Regions from separate parts of the Homo sapiens genome. Here all the other regions are linked to region 1. Evidence: promoter capture Hi-C in 16 types of primary human blood cells and fetal thymus (Javierre and others, 2016). All regions are on one chromosome and are shown on one strand. Each heading gives the region's core, a stretch centred on a gene start or on the middle of the fragment in contact. The rest is flanking DNA. Distances are from core to core; before and after follow the strand shown. Region 1 holds the start of CTTNBP2 (cortactin binding protein 2). Region 2 has its middle 68 kb from the start of LSM8. Region 3 has its middle 90 kb from the start of LSM8. Region 4 has its middle 110 kb from the start of LSM8. Region 5 has its middle 140 kb from the start of LSM8. Region 6 overlaps CTTNBP2 (cortactin binding protein 2).

Evidence for each region. Contacts are between HindIII fragments. The CHiCAGO score rates a contact against its expected background, and 5 or more counts as called.
Region 2: a contact is called between a fragment that was not itself captured here and the fragment with the promoter of CTTNBP2 in region 1, in 1 of 17 cell types (megakaryocytes). The highest score is 9.2, in megakaryocytes.
Region 3: a contact is called between a fragment that was not itself captured here and the fragment with the promoter of CTTNBP2 in region 1, in 1 of 17 cell types (megakaryocytes). The highest score is 11.2, in megakaryocytes.
Region 4: a contact is called between a fragment that was not itself captured here and the fragment with the promoter of CTTNBP2 in region 1, in 1 of 17 cell types (megakaryocytes). The highest score is 5.1, in megakaryocytes.
Region 5: a contact is called between a fragment that was not itself captured here and the fragment with the promoter of CTTNBP2 in region 1, in 1 of 17 cell types (megakaryocytes). The highest score is 6.0, in megakaryocytes.
Region 6: a fragment that was not itself captured here is called in contact with the fragment with the promoter of CTTNBP2 in region 1 in 1 of 17 cell types (megakaryocytes); the score reaches 7.1 in megakaryocytes.

What each region holds. Positions count from the first base shown.
Region 1 is chr7:117,871,837-117,874,978 of GRCh38, reverse strand. CTTNBP2 (cortactin binding protein 2) reads left to right here and starts at 1,538. Exons shown (of 23, transcript NM_033427.3): 1 at 1,538-1,644. The coding sequence starts at 1,564. The HindIII fragment of the contact is 3,697 bases long and covers 295-3,142 here.
Region 2 is chr7:118,114,099-118,117,240 of GRCh38, reverse strand. No RefSeq gene overlaps it. Among named protein-coding and RNA genes, the nearest start is that of LSM8, 68 kb to the left of the region's middle. The HindIII fragment of the contact is 3,203 bases long and covers 1-3,061 here.
Region 3 is chr7:118,092,289-118,095,430 of GRCh38, reverse strand. No RefSeq gene overlaps it. Among named protein-coding and RNA genes, the nearest start is that of LSM8, 90 kb to the left of the region's middle. The HindIII fragment of the contact is 6,249 bases long and covers 1-3,142 here.
Region 4 is chr7:118,071,959-118,075,100 of GRCh38, reverse strand. No RefSeq gene overlaps it. Among named protein-coding and RNA genes, the nearest start is that of LSM8, 110 kb to the left of the region's middle. The HindIII fragment of the contact is 165 bases long and covers 1,442-1,606 here.
Region 5 is chr7:118,041,630-118,044,771 of GRCh38, reverse strand. No RefSeq gene overlaps it. Among named protein-coding and RNA genes, the nearest start is that of LSM8, 140 kb to the left of the region's middle. The HindIII fragment of the contact is 1,581 bases long and covers 758-2,338 here.
Region 6 is chr7:117,721,252-117,724,393 of GRCh38, reverse strand. All of the region lies in intron 19 of CTTNBP2 (cortactin binding protein 2), which reads left to right. All of the region lies in intron 1 of LOC105375469 (a long non-coding RNA gene), which reads right to left. Among named protein-coding and RNA genes, the nearest start is that of CFTR-AS2, 75 kb to the right of the region's middle. The HindIII fragment of the contact is 1,119 bases long and covers 1,060-2,178 here.

The DNA.
Region 1 (3,142 bases), core at 289-2,788:
CCTGTACTCACAGGATAACCTGGAGATGATTTCTAAGCCTCTGACTTTTAGCCCCAGAGTTCTAGGTAAAGTTCTTTCTTGACCTCTCTTCTGGGAGGGAACTTTTCACAGTTTATTAATCAATCCCTTTCAGGGTCTTTGCAGAAAAGATTTTCTCTGCCCTGGTTTGTGTCATATTTGGGTCTAATTTGGAAAGTGGAGCAATTAAAGAGTCAAAACCTTTCATTAGGAGCCTGCCATTAAAAAAAGAAGAAAGAAAGAAAGAAAGAAAAAAGGAAAAAAAAAAAAAAAGCTTTGATCTGTAACCCTTGGACTGAACATTCTAGTCATTCATCTTCCAAAATTTCAAGTGCAAGATTTGGTTGTGGTTTGATTTTACGTCTTTGAGACACAGCTTGAATGTCTCAATTTGATTTTATGCATTCGACACATTTTTAGGGATCTGGTGATTTGGGAAGGGCTGTACCATATGGTCTTGGTGAGGTGATAGATTTTCACATTCTGGAAATTGGCAGCAAAGGGTAGGAACTGAATTAGATGTGGAAAGGGAAGATTAAGCGTTTGGGCCTAATTCACTCATCTCATGAAAAATCTTCTGAGACGTGTAATTCCCATAAAATCTATTTTTACAAATACGGCTTTTGTTTGATTGTTTTTGGTGTATATGTACACGTGTCCTCACACGTAGGGAGTAATTTTTTTAAATTCTCTCAAAAGTAGAGGACATGACATTTAGCTTTTAAAGCTATGACATTTAACACTTCTCAGTTAGTCCTTCAGGAGAGATCTCAGACTTAGGGGGGTCACAGAATATAAAACAGCCCGCTACACATTCCCTGAAAAGGAGATTGTATAGAAAGTTAGGAGCTGAGGGGCTGGTGCCACGTTCTAAAAGAAAACAGGACAGACAAATCGTTTTCATCTGAGAATTGTTTTTGGAGAAACACTAGAGTCAACGATAGAATAAATCAGAGCCAGGTGTGTATATATATAGGGAGGATAAAAACACCCTGGCGGCAATGAAATTTAAGAAAGAGCAATTTAAGAAGAAAGGGGTGCCCTGTGTGATTCCTCGCGGTGGGATAGAGGGAGCTGAAGTGTAGGATTTTCCCTGATCTTTCAGAGAATTCAGATTCAGGAGGCCTGACATTTAATCTGGTCTGTGCACGGATTTCTCCGGCTTGGTTGGGGTTCTGCGGAATGCAACGCTCCTCGGGCGCTTTCTGCCTTCACCTCTTCCGTGGTCTTTGATCCCCAGTCCCCGCGCAGGGCCGCAGCGGAGCCAGGTCGTGCGCCCATTTCTCGCACCTCCACGAGCCCGCGGCTGGCGCCACCGGGCGCGGGACGCGGGGCGCGGGGCGGGACCGAGGCGGGGCGCTCCGGCGCGCAGCGGGTTAAGCGGCGAGGGCGGTGGCGAGGGGCGGAGGGAGTGCCGCGGCTCCCGGCTCCCGGCTCCAGGCGCCCGCGTCCCGGACAGCAGCGGGTTAAGTGCCGCCCGCGCGGAGACGGCTGAGTCCGGAGCCGCGGCTCCGAGCTCGCATTCGGATCCGCTAGAGCAGGAAGATGGCGACGGACGGCGCGAGCTGCGAGCCCGACTTGTCCCGGGCCCCGGAGGACGCGGCGGGGGCCGCGGCGGAGGCGGCGGTAACCGAGTTCCCGGGGCGGGCGCGGGGCTAGTGTAGACGCGGGCCGGGGGCGGCGCCGGGGTCCCAGCCGGACCCGACTTCGCACCCCCGGGGCGTTCCGTAAGCCCGGGACTCTCCGGTGCCCCTTCATCGGGGCCCCCCTTCCTCGGGATGCCCACACGGCGGAGGCCGCGGGGGGGAGCGGAGCGGCCACCCTGGCTGGGGATCCCTCCTGTCCCTTCCGCGCCCCACGGGAAGCGGCCCCGGGTCGCCCGGTTCTCCCAGCTCCCTGTCTGCGTCCAGTGCGACCCCTATGCCCACTCCCTCCGCTGCGGTCGCTTCTGGCCGGGGGAGAAGGCTGGGACGTGTTTCCTGGCGAATTTGACCCCCCATTGTTCACCTCTCGCTGCGCGCGTGGTTGCCAGCGCGTGTCTCGGGGGTGCCTGGTACCGCTCAGCGGACCCGGGAGAGCAGCTTGGGGGAGGTGGGCCATCGCCCAGCAGGTGTGGGGATGCCCATTGTGTGCATCTGGTCCTGTGCCTTCGGGAGGCCCACTGGGAGAGGGCCGTGTCCAGATGTGGGCGCTGCTGCCGCTGAGGCCAGCGCTTTAGGTCCTAGCAGCCTGCTGCCCCATTACTTGGTGGTAGTGATTGGGGTGGGGTGGATGGATTGGTTCTTCCCGAGACGATGCTCAGGAGAGGTGGAGGTTCTGCACCTGGTTTCAAGACATTGTTCTCCTTCTCTGGAGTCTAGAGGCCGAATGCGCTACCATTCTTGACTGGTCCTTACTTTCACCCCCTTAATATTCCGGTGTAGAGACTCGCTGGTGGTTTCCAGCCTCTACTTTGGGGAAGGGCTGGACCCACATTTCCTGGGTGGAAAAGGTTCTCGGTGTTTGGGAAGCAGCTTCGCAGGAGCTGCAAGGAGCTGCAGAGAAAGGCAGATCTGGGAGCGCCTCCCACTCTTGGCCAGATCTGGCTGCTCCCGCCGAAGGATGGGGTGGGATGGAGCGAGCGGGGCGTGGACGCCCCCCTCTTCCTATCAAGACCTGAGCAGAATCAGTGCAGGAGAGGGCAGGGCCGGGCGTAAACAGCGGGGGCCGCTTTAACTTCCTCCCACCCTCTGGAGGTAGGGCTTTCTGGAGAGGGAGAGGAGAGATGTGGAGGAAGGTACTTGGGGTGAGAGGAGCTGAGCCTGGCAATGGAAGGAGAAACGGGGAGGAGGACTGCTAATTTCCACTTGTAAAACTGGCAAGTTTTGATTTGAACTTTTGGGAAAATTGAGTTTCCATTCTTTGCATAGAAAATGAGAACTTTAAGATTTCAAACGAAACCTGCCCACTTATGTGAATCAGCTCCCCTCTGTGGGGCACAGTAAGGAAACTAGCTATTGAGACAAGGCTCTCTGGCAAGTGGAAATGATTTGGTGCCTTCATCCCCAAAAGGTGGGAAGGGGAAGGACGAGGAAAAAGAAAGAGGGTGTGTGTGTGTGTGTGTGTGTGTGTGTGTGAAGGGGAA
Region 2 (3,142 bases), core at 211-2,710, 240 kb before region 1:
GAATAGTACAAATGCAGTATTTTAAGCCAATAACTATTATATGCCAATCTCAAGGAATCACTGAAGGGGAGGAGAACACCTGCTCAAGGGGTCCCATAGGTTTCAAATTAGCATTGATAGCATGTTAGTCATGCAAAAGTCTCTATTTACCAGACTTTTTGGGAATGATGAAAATGGGTGAATTCCAAGGTCTTTTTGATGGTTCTATATGACTGGCTTTTAATTGCTCTTCAACAAACTCATGGGCTCTTTGCAATTTCTCTCCCTTTAAAGGCCACTGGTCTACCCAAATTGGATCTTGAGAGAGCCTCATCAGAGGTAGGGGAGGGATAATAACAGTGGCCATTACTAGAAAGGGGTCCACAGAATGACCTCCCATTGAGCTAATAGGTCCCGTCCCCAAAGATTAGCAGGGATGGACGTTATTAGAAGTTGTATAACTGCATTTCTTTCCTCTGAATCACAACATGTTGGGGGGTACATGCTCTGCTTGGCTGTGTGAGCTTCCCCAGTGCTGACAATTTTTTGTTTCTGAGTGGCCCGAGGCCAAGTTTCTGGCCAGTTTTGATCACTAGTGATTGAAGTATCTTCCCCTGTGTCCAATAAGCTAGTAAAATTCTTATTTCCAATTTTTAAGGTAATCATGGGTCTCTGATCAGTGATTAATTGATTCCTGTATACTCCTGTGGCTCCTGTGCTTCCAAAACTTCCTTTTCCCCTTTCCTTTCCATGGGTGTTGGGGACCTAGTATGGTAAAAGCAGTAACTGAGCTATCTTTGATCCAGGGGGAAGAATATGCAGACCTTTACATTTCATCATAACTAATATCTCACCTTGATAATCACTATCAATCACCCCAGTGAGCACATTAATTCCTTTACTGGATAGGCTTGATCGCTCTAGGACTAATCCCACTGTTCCCAGAGGCAGTGGGCCCCAGATCCCAGTTGCAACCTTTTTAGGGTCTTCTCCTTCTTTTAGCACTAATTTGTTGGGGCAAAGTAAGTCCAGCTCTGCGCTCCTAGCAGTGACTGCTCTGAGAGAGAGGACTGTGGGCTTCCCATCTGACCAAAGCAAGCCGCTGGCATTGCCCCAGCTTTTAGCGGGGCCTGAGGCCAGCCCCTCATGAAGTTTCCCGCCTGGTTACTTATGGGGTTGCTGTTTTTGTCAAATTTGGACCTGAATTGATTTGCCCAATGTTTCTCCTTTTTACGTTGGGGGCATATAGAAGGAGTTTCTTTTCCTGAGTTACCTTGGTCTTTATTATTGGGGCATTCCGTCTGCACATAACCTGGCTCTCCGCATAGAAAACACTTTGGGTTTCTGTCCCTTTCCACTTTAGGAGGCCTTAATGCCATAGCCAATATTTTGGCTTTGTGTGTTTCAGTCCCCACCAGTTGACATGCTCGTATAAGTTCCTCGACTGTGGCTGCCTTTCCTCTGATTGTCTGCATTGCTTGTTGGCAATTGACATTAGCATTTTCATAAGCCAATTGCAAAAATAAGATATCAGCGGTCTGGGCATGACTAATTTGTCTCTTAATTGCCTGGGTTAACTGAATGATAATTTCAACAAATGGCTCCTGAGGCCCTTGTCGAACATTTGTAAAAGATCCCTGTTGAACTCCGCTTTTGGGAATTTGTCAAGCCCTAAGATCACACAAAGACACATGTACATAGGCCTGGGGATCAAAATTTAGTTGTTGTTGTACATCGGCATGGGGACTCCTCCCCTGGAGCATATCAGCATTATGTCTTGCCTAGCCAACTGATTCTGGTAGGCTTGTTGTTCACACGACTCATCATATTCTGCCCTCCAGAGGAGGTATTGGCTGGGCTCCAAAGTTGTTTTAGCTAGCACTGACCAGTCCCATGGGAAGTTGTCTGCCATGGCTTCAATAATTCCTTTCATAAATGGGCTAGTGGCTCTGTTTTCTTTAATACTTTTTCTTAGCTCTTTATAAGAGTTAAAAGAAATGGGTTCATGTACCTGATTGCCTTGTTGATCTTGCACTACCTGGCAGGGTTAGAGTTCCCCTTCTAATGCCGCTTGCCTGAGACAGGGTCCCATAGCTGTAGCGTATCCCTTGTCTTTTTTCCAATTTATTGGAGGAGGGGGCTCAGGCAAAACCTTCATTTCCTCTTTGTTATTTTGGCCCAGTGTTAGCGGGGCTGAGGGATAAGGAGGTGGTAAGGTAGGTGACGGTTCCTCCTCCCTTCCCTTTTTAGGCTCTTCTGCATAGAGCGGGACTACAGCCACCCTAAATAAAGCCCATAATGTTAGAGATGTTACTGGGACCTGTTGCCCTTGTGCATGATGTTGTTTAAGATTTCTCCCCACTTGTTCCCACAGCTCTACGTCTAGTGTACCTTCTTCTAGGAACCATGGGTTATGGGAAACAACAGTTTGCATTAGGTCCCTTAATTGAGCCTGTGAAACTGAGGCTCCACTAGCTTTAAGCAGCTGTTTCAATACTTCTGTATACTGTTGCTGTTGAGCTGATAACTGTTGTCCCATGATGAAACCCTAACCTGAACAATTCCCTTGAACTTGGAAATCCCTAGTGGGCACCAATGACTTACTGACTTACTGACTGTACAGTCTCTTCACCTTTGTTTTCAAGGGTTCTGTCATGAACCGTTGCAGCATTCCTCATGCGGGCCATCACCTGCTGGGTTCAACCTGCAGATCGTGACCAAGTGACAGACGAAAAAATGCACTTAGACACAGGTATCCAGTGAAAGAGCGGTCTAGGGGACTGGGCCACTCACAGACACCAAAGAGTGTGCTGTAAAGAGTTGTAGCAGCTGTGGTCGTGACGAGCTGGTGCTGCAGGCATTTATTTGGTACAGATTTAATGACAAAGGCCTTGAGTCAACACACTTGTGGATAATTAATATGGTCGCCCCCGGAGTAGTCCTGCGTGCAGATGATTAAAGGCCAGGTTCGGAGGCCTAAGTAAACTAACTTATCTAGATCAGTTTCTTTACATCCCCTTCTTATCTAACCTAAGCTCTTAAGAGAATTTGGCTGCCTTCAGCCAAATTCTCTTTCGAAGCTTTTGCAAAACCTCCCAGCATTCCAAGAAGGTTTGCTTCTTTCTATAACTTCCTCTTATAATTTCTTCCACCACCCTGACTG
Region 3 (3,142 bases), core at 279-2,778, 220 kb before region 1:
GAGGTTATTCTGAGAGTGACCAGAAAAGTCAACAGTATTTGTTCTAAAATGCATTTAAAGCCAGAGTCGAACCAGCCTCACAGAATGGGTTTGAGTGAGCAACTCTTTCCTGGTTGCACTTGAATCCTTTTTGTTCAGTATGTGATTAGCTGCCTGCCTCTCGCTAAAGCCTTCTAGGTTCTGGATGTGAGGCCAATTGGACCCCATTCACGATCTCAACATCCTTCTAGACCCAAGAATAAAAGGACCCCTGCATCCCTACATAGTTCAGTAGCTCAGGATCCAGTTACCTTATTTATCCAAGGGAAATATTGCTCTAAGGCCCCTCTAACCTTGTTCTTTATACCTGGTCTGAATAGCCAGTCTTTTACATCCTTCCTCATCACCAAGCCTCCATTTTGTTTTCCAAATCTAAGTTCAGTTTGTTATTTGTCCTGACATTCTCCAGCTGTTCTTACTGAGGCCTAAGCTGGAGTCCCTCTAGTTAGACTAACACCACATGTTGCCAATCCACCTGCCAGCCAGCCCTCCTCACAGCTTGTTTCTAGACTTCTTGAGCTCTGCAGAGTTCACCTGCCAGGACACCTTACTCCCTTACGAACCTCCCTGATAAAAGATTTCTGCCCAAACTTCTCCCTGTCCCTGGCTCTACATTCCATGTCTTTGCTGAAGCAGACTCTTTCTGTCTATGTTGAGCCTCTCTGACGATCTTTACTTGCTACTTAAAAAGCCCAAGTTACTGTCCCATGACAATGGTTCTACTTCCTCTCCTGGCCCAAGAGCCCCTAATGACCAGGCACAAGCTCCCTCCTTCAGTCTGCTATGCTTTGATTAAGCCTGTGTAAGACATTTTCCTCAATTTAAGAAATACTTAATTAGTTCATCCTCTGGTTTAGGTGTTTTAGAGTAACAAATAAACGTATCTTTGAGTGCCTTATATGACAAATGCCCATTTATGTATCTGTAAATTGACTGAAAGTTCAATTTAAATAAAAATCTACTTCTTAATTAATTGCTCTTATGCTTTTCTATTCCCTTCTCACCAAACCCTCCTGAATGACAGTTACAACAGAGAGAGGCCTCTTCTATAATCTCAGGCCAATTTACCAGGTACCAGGAGAATAATCCTCTTCCACATCCAAGGCTGCTTCTAGGTAGCAGTGACACCTTGTAGAACAGGTATAACAACATGTCTAGATTTTATTGTATACTCAGATTTATGATTTATTACCTACACCAACTTGATCAGCAGGAGAAGCAATATATCTGTAATACTAAAGATGTCAAAAATATAGGCTTGGATTTACACATTTGTACCAAGCAAATTCTCTTCCTTTTTGTTCTCTTTTTGTTCCGCTCAGATCCTACCCAGTATCTCCCTACAGCAGTTTTATAGTAAAGCCTACCCTGAAACCATATCTCACATTCTGGGTTCCTTCAGTTCTCATGGCATTTGACAATAAAGTGCTAGAACAATATTAAATTCTAAAGATCAGGTTTGGCTGCAAGTGATGGAAAACCAAAACAACAGTGATTTAAACAAGATTCATTTTTTTTTATTTATCTGATTTGTATTCTCCACGAGTACTATGATGACTCCATGATCATCAGAGATCCAGACTCCTCTTGGATTTTTGCTTTGCCGTCTTCAATACCTGGCTTTTATCTTCAGTGCAAGGTGGCTGCTTAGGTTCCAGCCATGAGGTCCACAGTCCAGCTGGCAGGAAGAGAAGTGGCAGAGCACACTCCTTCCCTTTAAGGATGTTTTCTAGAAGTCACACAGGACACTTTTGCTAAATCTCATTCACCAGACTTTAATGGCATGACATCATCTGGCTACAAGGAAAGCTGGGAAGTATAACTTTGATTCTGGGGAACGCATGCCTTGATAAATTTGGGGGTTTTATTACTAAAATGGAAAGGGAGGAAAGATTCTCAGGTGACAATTAGCAGTTCCTAAGACAATTTTCCATTTTGGCAGAAATCTGTTTTCCTTAGATTACTTTTTTATTTATATCTACTTGCTTATAAAACACTATGAGATTTTTAGTTGTCTTATATTTTATTTTATACCCATGAATTGAATATCATGTCAGTAATGATACAATTATTTTTAATTTTATTGTCACCATAATTAACCTTTAATATGACATCTTGCCTGGGTTTTAAGTAAGGAGATACTGAATAAATTTTTTTTTATTTGTTTGTAATGCAAAACATTGTATTAAGTATGCAGATATATTAATAAAATAAAGCATGTCACCAGTCTAGATTATCCTTTATTATTACTCACTTAGACGCTTTTAATAATTACCCATCTCAAACTCTTTCTCTTAAATATATTGAAAACATCACTACTGGAAAACTTTCCCTGAAATGTTATTATGACAATATACTTCTCCATGTAAAAACCACAATGATTTCCCTATTTCCTATAGAATAAATCAATTTTCTTAGCCTAGAATTTATTGCTCCTCATAATCTGATCCAAATAGCTGCCTTTAGGTTTGTCCTTCATTACATCCTTTGTAAAAAACTCATCCTTAGTGGAAATATTCCTTACTCCCCATAAGTACCTGATTCTTACGATCTCTCTAACATTGCTTATGAAGTTTTTTTCTGCTTTGACTAAGCACCCCATCCCATCCCCATCACCAGTTTCTTCTCCATCTACATATTTTATCATTTCTTTAAGGATCTGTGAAATGCCACCTTCTCCGCTACATCTCTGGCTCACCACCAATACTTCTTGTAAACTTACTACTATAGGAGTTTGCACATCTCTTATTCTCTTACTGTATCACACATTTATTAAGTAAATAAATTTCATTTAATTTCAGTTCACCCCACAGCACGTTGTAGATAAAATTTATGCAGTAAATATTTACTGAATGAATGAATAACATAATTCATTGGCTTTGTCAACAAGTTAGAGCTCCTTAGAAGCAAAACTTGTATCACAAGCGATAAAAGAGCATATTTAGTCTCTCAATTTGTACTTTCAGTTTAAATTTAGTACCACACAATAGGAAGCATTATTACATGATATCAAATGAATAATTCTCAAATGAATTTGGAATCAGTCTAGGCTCTTTTGCAAGAACAATAACAACAAATTTACATTTCAAACTCTACATATTTT
Region 4 (3,142 bases), core at 275-2,774, 200 kb before region 1:
ATATTAATGTGTTAGCAGGTATTACATAACTAGTTACAACATGAATTTTATATGTTGGCCAAATTAGTTCATTCACATTATTCCTATTCCCTCAAGACTTCTTTTTGGAATCCAAATGTCTGGATTTAGTGACAGACAGCTGACAGCAGTAAAATTAATGTCTCACCAGGAATAACTTCATTAATCAGCTTGAAGCAGAGACCACCTTTGAGGCAACCATCTTTGCCAGCACTATAGCCTAGAAGTTCCCATTTATAATCGATATCAAGGTGAGGGTGGAAATAGCAAAAAACATTTTAATCTCTTATTTCTTAACCTCATTTTCTTTTAAAAAGTAAGCAACTCTGAGCAGCAACTTGACTTGTTATTAAAGAACCACTGATATGCTGATATATCTATGTTCTCTGATTGCTTCACAGGAGAAGTTTTTCCCTTTATAATAAAATTAAGAGACTTTAAGAGCAGTGACCATGTTATAGATGTATTGTGCATTTTGGGGAATGTCCAACCAATACTAGGCATGTTCTAAATTAATTGTTATACTCAATTGATAGATTGAGTTTTCATAATTTCATGGTGGATACTCACAGAGGAATCATGGAAATCATTTTGCATGATACATGGAAAGTAAGACAAGATTTCCCTTCTACTTTGAACATTGATAGGCATTAGTTAAGGAGTGAGAGGACAGTTATATTCAGTGAGAAGGCTGGGGAGAGTGAATGCAGTGCATTAAGAGAGAGTATGCACATCCATTTGAATATAGATGGGACAGAACAGAATTAGAAGCTGACTGTTGGAATGTTCAAATATAGACAATAAAGAGTAGTGAGGTGACATGATGGAAGCAGGTAAGGTTCATATTTCCCACACTTCCACCTACGTGGAGGATTAATGGGGCCCCAATAGTACAAAAGAAACAAAGAAGATGCATTCTGGCTTTGGTACCAGCTTTCCTCAAGTCATTTAGAAAGACTCTGAGGTGTATTATAAGTAACTCTGATTGGCTTCTTCCTGCCTATCTTGTGTTCCTTCCCACTCCCTGTGATAGACCCTACCAATGGCTGCAGGTGTCCTGAACCATTGCTAAGACATCACCTGTCATCTCTGGTGTAGACGTTGTGGCACCCAGATCATGGTCATCTCTCCTGCTTTTAATGTACTTCTGGTGGCCATAACACTCAGCTCCTCCCTAGTCCCTTTGCTGAAGTGGGATAACTCCCACTCATATTATACTCCGTTACTTGGTCCATGAAGTAGCAGGTTCTCTCTTCTCAGAGTCTTGTTGAAAATTATTATCGCAGCCTGTTGCCCCCTGGGCTCTGACCACAAGTTGTAGGGGATAAGGAGGACACCAGAAAGCAAGGTGGATTTATACATACTAAACTGTTATATTAGTTATCTATTGTTGCATAACAAATTATCCTGAAAGTTAGAAGCTTGAAACAATAAGCATTTATTATCTCATGGTTTCTGTCAGTGAGGAATCTAGGCATGGCTTACCTGGGTCCCCTGGCTTGGGGTCCCTTCTAAGGCTCCAGTTAAGATATTAACAAGGGTTGTAGTCATCTCAACGCTCAAATGGGGAAGGATCTACTTCCAAGCTTACTCACATGGCTGTTGGCAGGGCTCGGGTCTCCTATTGACTAGACACCAGCTCCTTGCCACATTGGCCTATCATACAGTAGCTCAGAACATGACAGCTGGCTTCTCTCAGAGCAAGTGAGGAAACGAGTGAATGAGAGCAAGCAAGAGGAAAATCACTGTTTGTTTTTTGTAAATTGATCTCTGAAATGACGTCTCCTCACTTTTGTCATATTCTGTTTGTTACATGCAAACCAGTAGGTCCAGCCTACATTCAAGGGGAGGGAATTACATAAGGGTATGAATACCAGAAAGGAGAGATCACAGGGGCCATTTTAGAGGCTGCCTATCACAACTATTGAGAATTTCCCTTCTTTTCAGGTGACGGTAACCTTTGAAGATCTGAAGTTCCTTATGTAACTATCAGGCAAACTCAGACAAGTCTGAATTTGTCTAGGTGTTCACTCTCAGACCTGGTTTTACAATTTTTTTTTTTCAGAAAAGGAATCTGGCAGCAAGGTACTAGATGGATTAAAGAGAACTTGTGGTTGGAGATGTAAACCAAGGGACTATTGTAATAGTCTTTACAGGAAGTAATAAAAATATAAACCAGGATGCTGGTAGGAAACTTGAATGAAGGAGAGGGACACAAAAGAGGGCAGAAAAGCAAGAATCAAAAATACTTCATGCCAGACTGAATACTGAAAGTGGTAACAAAGGAACAACAATGCCTTGGATTCCCAGGTGCCTCCAGAGTATTGGTGACATTTATGAAAAAGGGGAAAGTTTGGAGAAAGAAAATCCAGGTTTGGGAAAAAAATGGCTAGATTTGATGTGTTAAATTGAGGTTTTATTTAAATTATGAATGAGCAAATACAGTCTCCCTAGTTTTGTTCTGGTTGGTTGGTCTGAGACATGCGAAGACATAGAAAAGAGTTCCATGACCTTGAGGATGTTATAATGTCTGGACAGTTGAACCGGTGACTGAAGCTAGAAACAGAGGTCACAATAGGAGTTTTATAGTTATTTGTCATCAATACAGAAACTCTGAGAGAAGATAAGGTAAAGAGGAAGGCTCAAAGTTGAGAGACAGGAGAAACAAGAGCCCTCAGATAATCTTTTAGATTCAAAATCACTCTGTGATTTACAACGTACTCTAACTTACATGATTTTTTCTTTGATATAGCAGTTACAGTTATATCCATGTTTTGCATGAGTACAGAAAGGATGGATCAAAGGTTAAGGAGTGACCTCCCTAAGGTCGCACAATTTGTAAATAATAAAACTGGGATTGACTGCAGATCTTTTGATGTCCTGCCCAGTGTTTTTTTCCACTCCCCTGGAACCACCATTTTAAAATATGTGGGAAAATAAAAAAAGAGAAAAGTATTTTAGCATAATATGGTGTTATGAAAAAAAAAACAGAAAGCAGAGCGGTCCGCTTGTAAAGGAGTTTATTATTAGTCACAAACATTTCAGAATATTTGCAGAGAATTACTATGAAAAAAGACCATTGATGAAAATAATGATTTCATTACTTGAGGAGTGAAACGATCTA
Region 5 (3,142 bases), core at 299-2,798, 170 kb before region 1:
TTGCTTTGGTTTGCACTATTTTTCTGAGCTCCATGCTGGTGTAACCAACCAACTACAACTTCATGGGTGTCTAACAGACATATCCAAAGTGGAAACTATGATCTTCCTCTATGCATTCCTCAACTTGTTTCACTTTTGGTATTCCATATTTCAGTAAATGGTATCATCACTCAGTTTCTTAAGCCAAAAACCTGTCATCTTTGACACTCACTTCTACCTGACTTCCCACATTCAATTAATCATCATATTGTGTTTAATTTTATCTCCAGGATGTATTTGGCACCTATTTCTCTCCATTACCAATACCAGCACCATCCTCTCCCACCTGGACTACTGAAATAATATAACTGGTATCCTTATTGCCTTTTTTGGCCCAAAACAATCCACTCTTCATTTGCTCTTTCTGCAGTTTCTGATCACATCAGTCCTTAACATAGCAACTTTCAAGGGCTCTTGTTTGCACCCAAATATTTAATAGGTTCTACAAAGCCAGTGTTGCTCAAAGTATAGGCAACAAACAAATAAATTAAAATCTCTTGGAATAGGGGCTAGAAACTTGTATATATAATATATAAAGTACTCCTATTATAGTCAATCTTCATAAAATTTCATTTTATACAATGTTTACTGTTATAATGTGTAATTATTTTTTAGCAGAAAACATTATTCTTTAGCAGTAAACATTATTCTTTTTCACTAAAAGCCTAAGGAGATTTTATTCTTCATCTCATTTCAAGAAGCTTTTTCATTAAAAGCTTACTTTTATGTTTAATTTACAAAAAAAATTAATATTTTTGTTATTTTGAAGAAGACTATATTATTAAAAATTATATTGGTAGCTCAAGCCAGAAAAACATCACAACAGTTAAAGTCTCATGGTTAGAGATAATTAAAAAGTAAAATTTAAAGCTATATGTGCAATTTGTTACAGATAAGCATGGTATGATGATCAACAAAATAATTTTTAAGCACAAAATATATTACATAAAAATAAATATCTGGGAAGTATAGTAAAATATTAATATGAGTTCACAAAAAGGAAGAATGAAAATTTCTAAATGTTAAGGAAGAATTTAGAAATACATTTTAAATGGATTATGGTGGTTATCATATAGCACTTGATTTCTCATAAAATACTTAGAAGAATGTTGTAATAGTTTTATTTGCTAAAGTCCAACTTTTACAATGTGCCAGAAGTTAAATGCTTTACAACTACTTAATAATTTGATGATTTTTTTCCTGCAAACAAACTTTTGAGGAGATAAATTATTTCTCAAAATTTTGGAAAGGATTTATGAGGAAAAATATAAAGACCACTATTCTAAGTCAGAATGGTAGTGTTTGATGCAAATTTCTCCATCCCAGCTAGTTGAGTTCTCAACTGATGTAAAAGTGTGTGAACAATTATTTGTCATTAAAATAAAATTTTTATTTCTCTATCCCAGCTAGTTGAGTTCTTAACTGTTGTAAAAGTGTTTGACAAATTAATTTTATTTGTCATTAAAAGTAATAACAAAAACTGCAATTACTTTTGCACCAACTAATTGGCATTGAGACTTCTATGGAGTATTATGGATAAGGATATTCTTTAAGTTGGAAAAAAGTCTAATAAGGGCCCCTCTTATTGATTTATTTTCCCAGAGTAAGCCTCAAAAAAAGGCTGTGGCCCCGAAGTTGCAGGTTAAAGGACAGTTATATAACCAATAAAGTCTATTTAATCCCTAAGGGCCTGGAGACATAAGGAAAGACAATCCTTCCTATCTTGACTTAAAATGACTGTCACCCAGATGCATGTCTGAATAGATAAGAATCTAGGAATATGCAGAAAAGTAGACCTAGACAGAAAGTATCTGAAGACTGAGAAGTCTGAGATTTCCTAAGAGTTATGCCACTGTTGAGAATTTGACCAGAATTGAAATTCCTTGTTTTCACAGCAGGGCTCTGGAGTTCATCTGTTGTGTTTAGAATTTTTTCCATCCGTTTTCTGCAATAAATCAGGTTTCTGCCTTCTGTTATCCTGCATTTATTTACCTGTTAAACAGAATTACTGTGTAAAAACTTATTATCCTTTTATCTTAGAGTATTTTCCTTCTCACTCCTTTACTAGTATACAGGATTGTGTGTGTGTGTGTGTGTGTGTGTGTGTGTGTGTGTGTGTGTGTGTGTGATTCTGGTATTTGTTTAGTCTACTGAAGATGGGCCTTGAGCAGGGAGAGGGATACAAGTGATAGCTTTGAGGCAAAAATGTCAAGCTGATTGCTTCAAAGAATGCCAGATGCTAATAAGATGAAGAAAAAAAATCACAGGGCAAACATGGAATTTAGGGGGAAATGAAGCTTGCATTATAGTGGAAAAGACAATAAACAGTATAAATAACTAAAATATATAGAGATAAACACTAAGGAGAAAAAAGTGCGGAAGGAAGAATTTGCAAAGGAGGAAGTAAGCCATGTGACTCTTAGGGAAATGCAATTAAAACTAAGGAAACAGCCAGTTAAAGATCTGGGTGGTGACAGCATGCCTAGTAAACATCGGTAACATATGAGAAAAATAAGGGTTGAGGCCAGAGAGTTGATGGTAGCCAGGTCATACAAAATATTATGAATGACTTGAGGGACTTCAGCTTTTATTCTGAGTATGCTGGGAAGCCATTGCTGGATTTTTAAGCAGAGATGTGATAGGTTATGACAGAATTGGTTGAGATTAGACTGATGTGGAGCAAAGATAGACTCCAAATGCAAGTTAGACAAGGACATTAATACAGGTGAGATTTGATAGTGATTTAGACAATGGGAGTCACAAACAGAGGTGGTGAGAAATTGTTGGACTGTGGATAAGATCTGAAGGTATCAAAGATTTTACTAAGTAGAAAAAATCATAAACAGTTTATAGGTCTGTCGAAAATAGCATGACAATTAATAATATCTAGAGATTTTTCAAGCTATACCCATCTATTGTATTCCCCCTGATACCTTAAAGGCAAAATATACTGAAAAGGGAGTTTATCCTTGTAGAAATCAAATGCCTAGAAACAGGTTGTTGGCTCTTCTTGCAGGGAATGCTGGACTCTTGCCATTGCCTGGGGCCAGAAGACAGTCAGTGGTTCTACCTGAGCCTGGCATTGGGAACAGGGAGATAGGAT
Region 6 (3,142 bases), core at 370-2,869, 150 kb after region 1:
TAGGTACATTTCCAAAAATATACAGGAGATCTCTACCTGAAAAATACCGCTTTCAAACCAGAATTCCAAAATTAATCTTTAACTTGTTAATGGTCATTTATTTATTATTTTGTTTCTCTTGGTGTTCACAATTTGTATAATCATTGCATTATTACATAATAAAATCATTGGCATATTTCTCCATTATGTCACTCCTAAGTTAATCTTACATTAAAAAAATATGTGTAGAGACATATTTGATACCCATTTAAGGCCTTTCCAGGTGAATCAGGTGTACACATTTCTTTCTTATGTATGACGTGTACCATGTGCTGGGTTTTAGTCTAGGCACTGGAAATAGAGTGGTAAAAAATATATATATTCCGGCCAGGCATGGTGGCTCATACCTGTAATCCCAGAACTGAGAGAGACCAAGACGAGTGGATAGCTTGAGGTCAGGAAGGCGAAACCCTGTATCTACTAAAAATACAAAAATTAGCTGGGCATGGTGGCGCATGCTTGTAATCCCAGCTACTCAGGAGCCTGAGGCATGAGAATTGCTTGAACCTGCGACACAGAGGTTGCAGTGAGCCGAGATCACACCACTGCACTCCAGGCTGAGTGACAGAGCAAGACTGTGTCTCAAAAAAAAAAAAAAAAAAGATCCTGCCGTCATCGAGTTTATATTCTAATAAATTGGACAGATTTCATATGATGGGACATCAAGTGAAAAATATGTAAGCTTTCATTCTAACAAAGAAGATGTAACACGTCTGTATCTTCTGGTGTTAGGCCTATTCCTTTTGGCATTGATAATAAGATAATCAGCTATTATATAAATTATAAATGTCTTTCCCAAAACAAATCCAAATTGGAATAAAAATGAAAAGAAATTTCCACCTCATGTGCACTGTGGACTTCAGATTATGTCATTCATTTTCCTCCTCTCTCAAAGTATTTGTTTTGTGAAATTTTATGCCAACTTTATAGCAGTGGGGTTTCTAAATGAGGTGCTTAAAATCTTATATTTAAAAAACATAAAGTTGCTTTTAGTTATGAGTATATTTTCATTTTTAAGCTTGTATTTTGTTAATTTTAATAAAAATTTAATGTTTTTTTAATCCTATCAATATATGCTAGGGTTCCCCAATTACCCTAAGTGCATGATAGCAAATTGTGACCCCTTTTTAAGTGACTGAATGAAAATTTACTGAATAAAATGAATTTTCTTATACTTTTAAAAAGATCAGTATTTTATATTGATAATAAGATACTGTTTTGATCTTAAGAGCTTGTTATTACTTCCCAGAGTTGTCAGAGTGTTTGATTTAGGGAGTAAGAATCACTAGACTCCAGCCCACCAATTTAGTATAGACCCCCAGATGACTTTCTGTAGCAAGGATTATACCTTTCATTTGCTCTTAGTCCTTTCAGTATGCAAGAAAGCTCCAAGACAATGATAATGATCTCCATTTACAGAGAATAAAACTGAGGTTCAGAAACCCTTGGGCACCTGCTCCAAATCACCTCTCCTGGAAATATGCGGTTCTGTAATTGTTTCTTGCAAGCCCAGTGCTATTTTCTGTAGTCCACAACACCCTGATCTTATTAGACGTGCAGTGATCTATGGGTACTCAGATAACTGGACACCCATTGAGGCTCTTCACTGTGTCATTTCTAAGTTTATTAGAATCTCTATAAAGTTTAAGACCAACTTTTTGAGCTAACTTAATTGTTGGTATATGCTTTAGAGTAGACAAACAGAATCAACAAAATGAATATGAATTTAAAGCAGTATCATGGAAGAGTCTGGATCAGAAAACTATATTACGCTTAAATGTAAAAAAAGATGAATAGACTTGAAATTATTTGTATTTTTAATAATTTTAGTTTTAGAACTATTTGATATCAAATGTTATATTCTTTGAAGCATGAACTTCTTTGACAGAATAAAACTACAAGAGTTTACACTGACTTCAAGGAAATTTCTAAAAGTTAACTTTACAAAGTATATAATTCATGAGTCAGTAGTTGGGTTAGAAACCATGACTGACATGCCTCTCGTTATTTTTATAATGGTAAATTTTTCCAATAATTACACTGTATATATGATTATTACAATGGTTGGGGTGACTTTGGTTAAAAAAAAAAAAAAAACCAACACAGGAATCCTTTTGCATGCAGATCACTATGGAAGCTTATCAAATTTGATAAAGAGACAGCCCATTTCTTTCCTGACCTAAAACAGAAAGGCCAATGATGTCAGATCCCAGGCTTTTAGGGCAGAGCCCAAGGCTGTGCGCTATGTAGTAATTAGTAGAAGCCACTAGTCAGTGCTTTGGACAATAATGACAGAAGTATGACTAAAGAAACTCGACAGTGATTTTCTTTGATCTGCTTTTAATGAGGATATATTTACTTTTCCAAAACATTCTTTAGAGAAAATTTGTGTTGACAACATTAATATTTTTAGAATTCACTCAAAAGCAACTGTTTTAATGCATTCATAACATTGAGTCTAAAATGGTTTATAAGAGTGTTTCTCAAACTTCAACCATAACCCATTGTGAGAAATACATTTTACACCATGATCTGTACACACAAGCCTCTGCATTTGTGTGTATATATAACTGATATGCATCAGTATACCTCCAGCAAGAAATACAGGCTATTTTCTCTTTTTTTAACTGTGTCATAATCTGCAGTTTAAAAAACATATGATTTTCAGCATTTAAATTCTATGACTTTTTGTACCCTGTTCATATTTTCTCTTCTGTATAATGCAAAAGCTGTTAAAAGTTAAATTTCTACAAGTACATGGCTAATGCCACATATCAAAAACTATACTTGATTACATAGTAGTGTTAGAATGCACACAAAGGTAGAGAAAGGGTGATTACCATCATCAAAAGGCAGGTATTAAAATCTTCTTTTGGTCCTTTGAGAACAAGGGCCTAAGGAACTAGGGACTTGACTAAAGAGAAGAACGGCCATCCATAAAAGTGAAATTCAGGATTCTTGACTTGAGCTTCAGGTAGTGTTAGTTGTACCGAGTTCCATCAAAATGTACTCGAGGGAGTTGGCTATTCCTTGACTTTCCCACAGTGCCTCTGCAGGAGGCTATGCCCAGAGCCTCTGTCCTGGGGAAAATCTCCTCAAATCC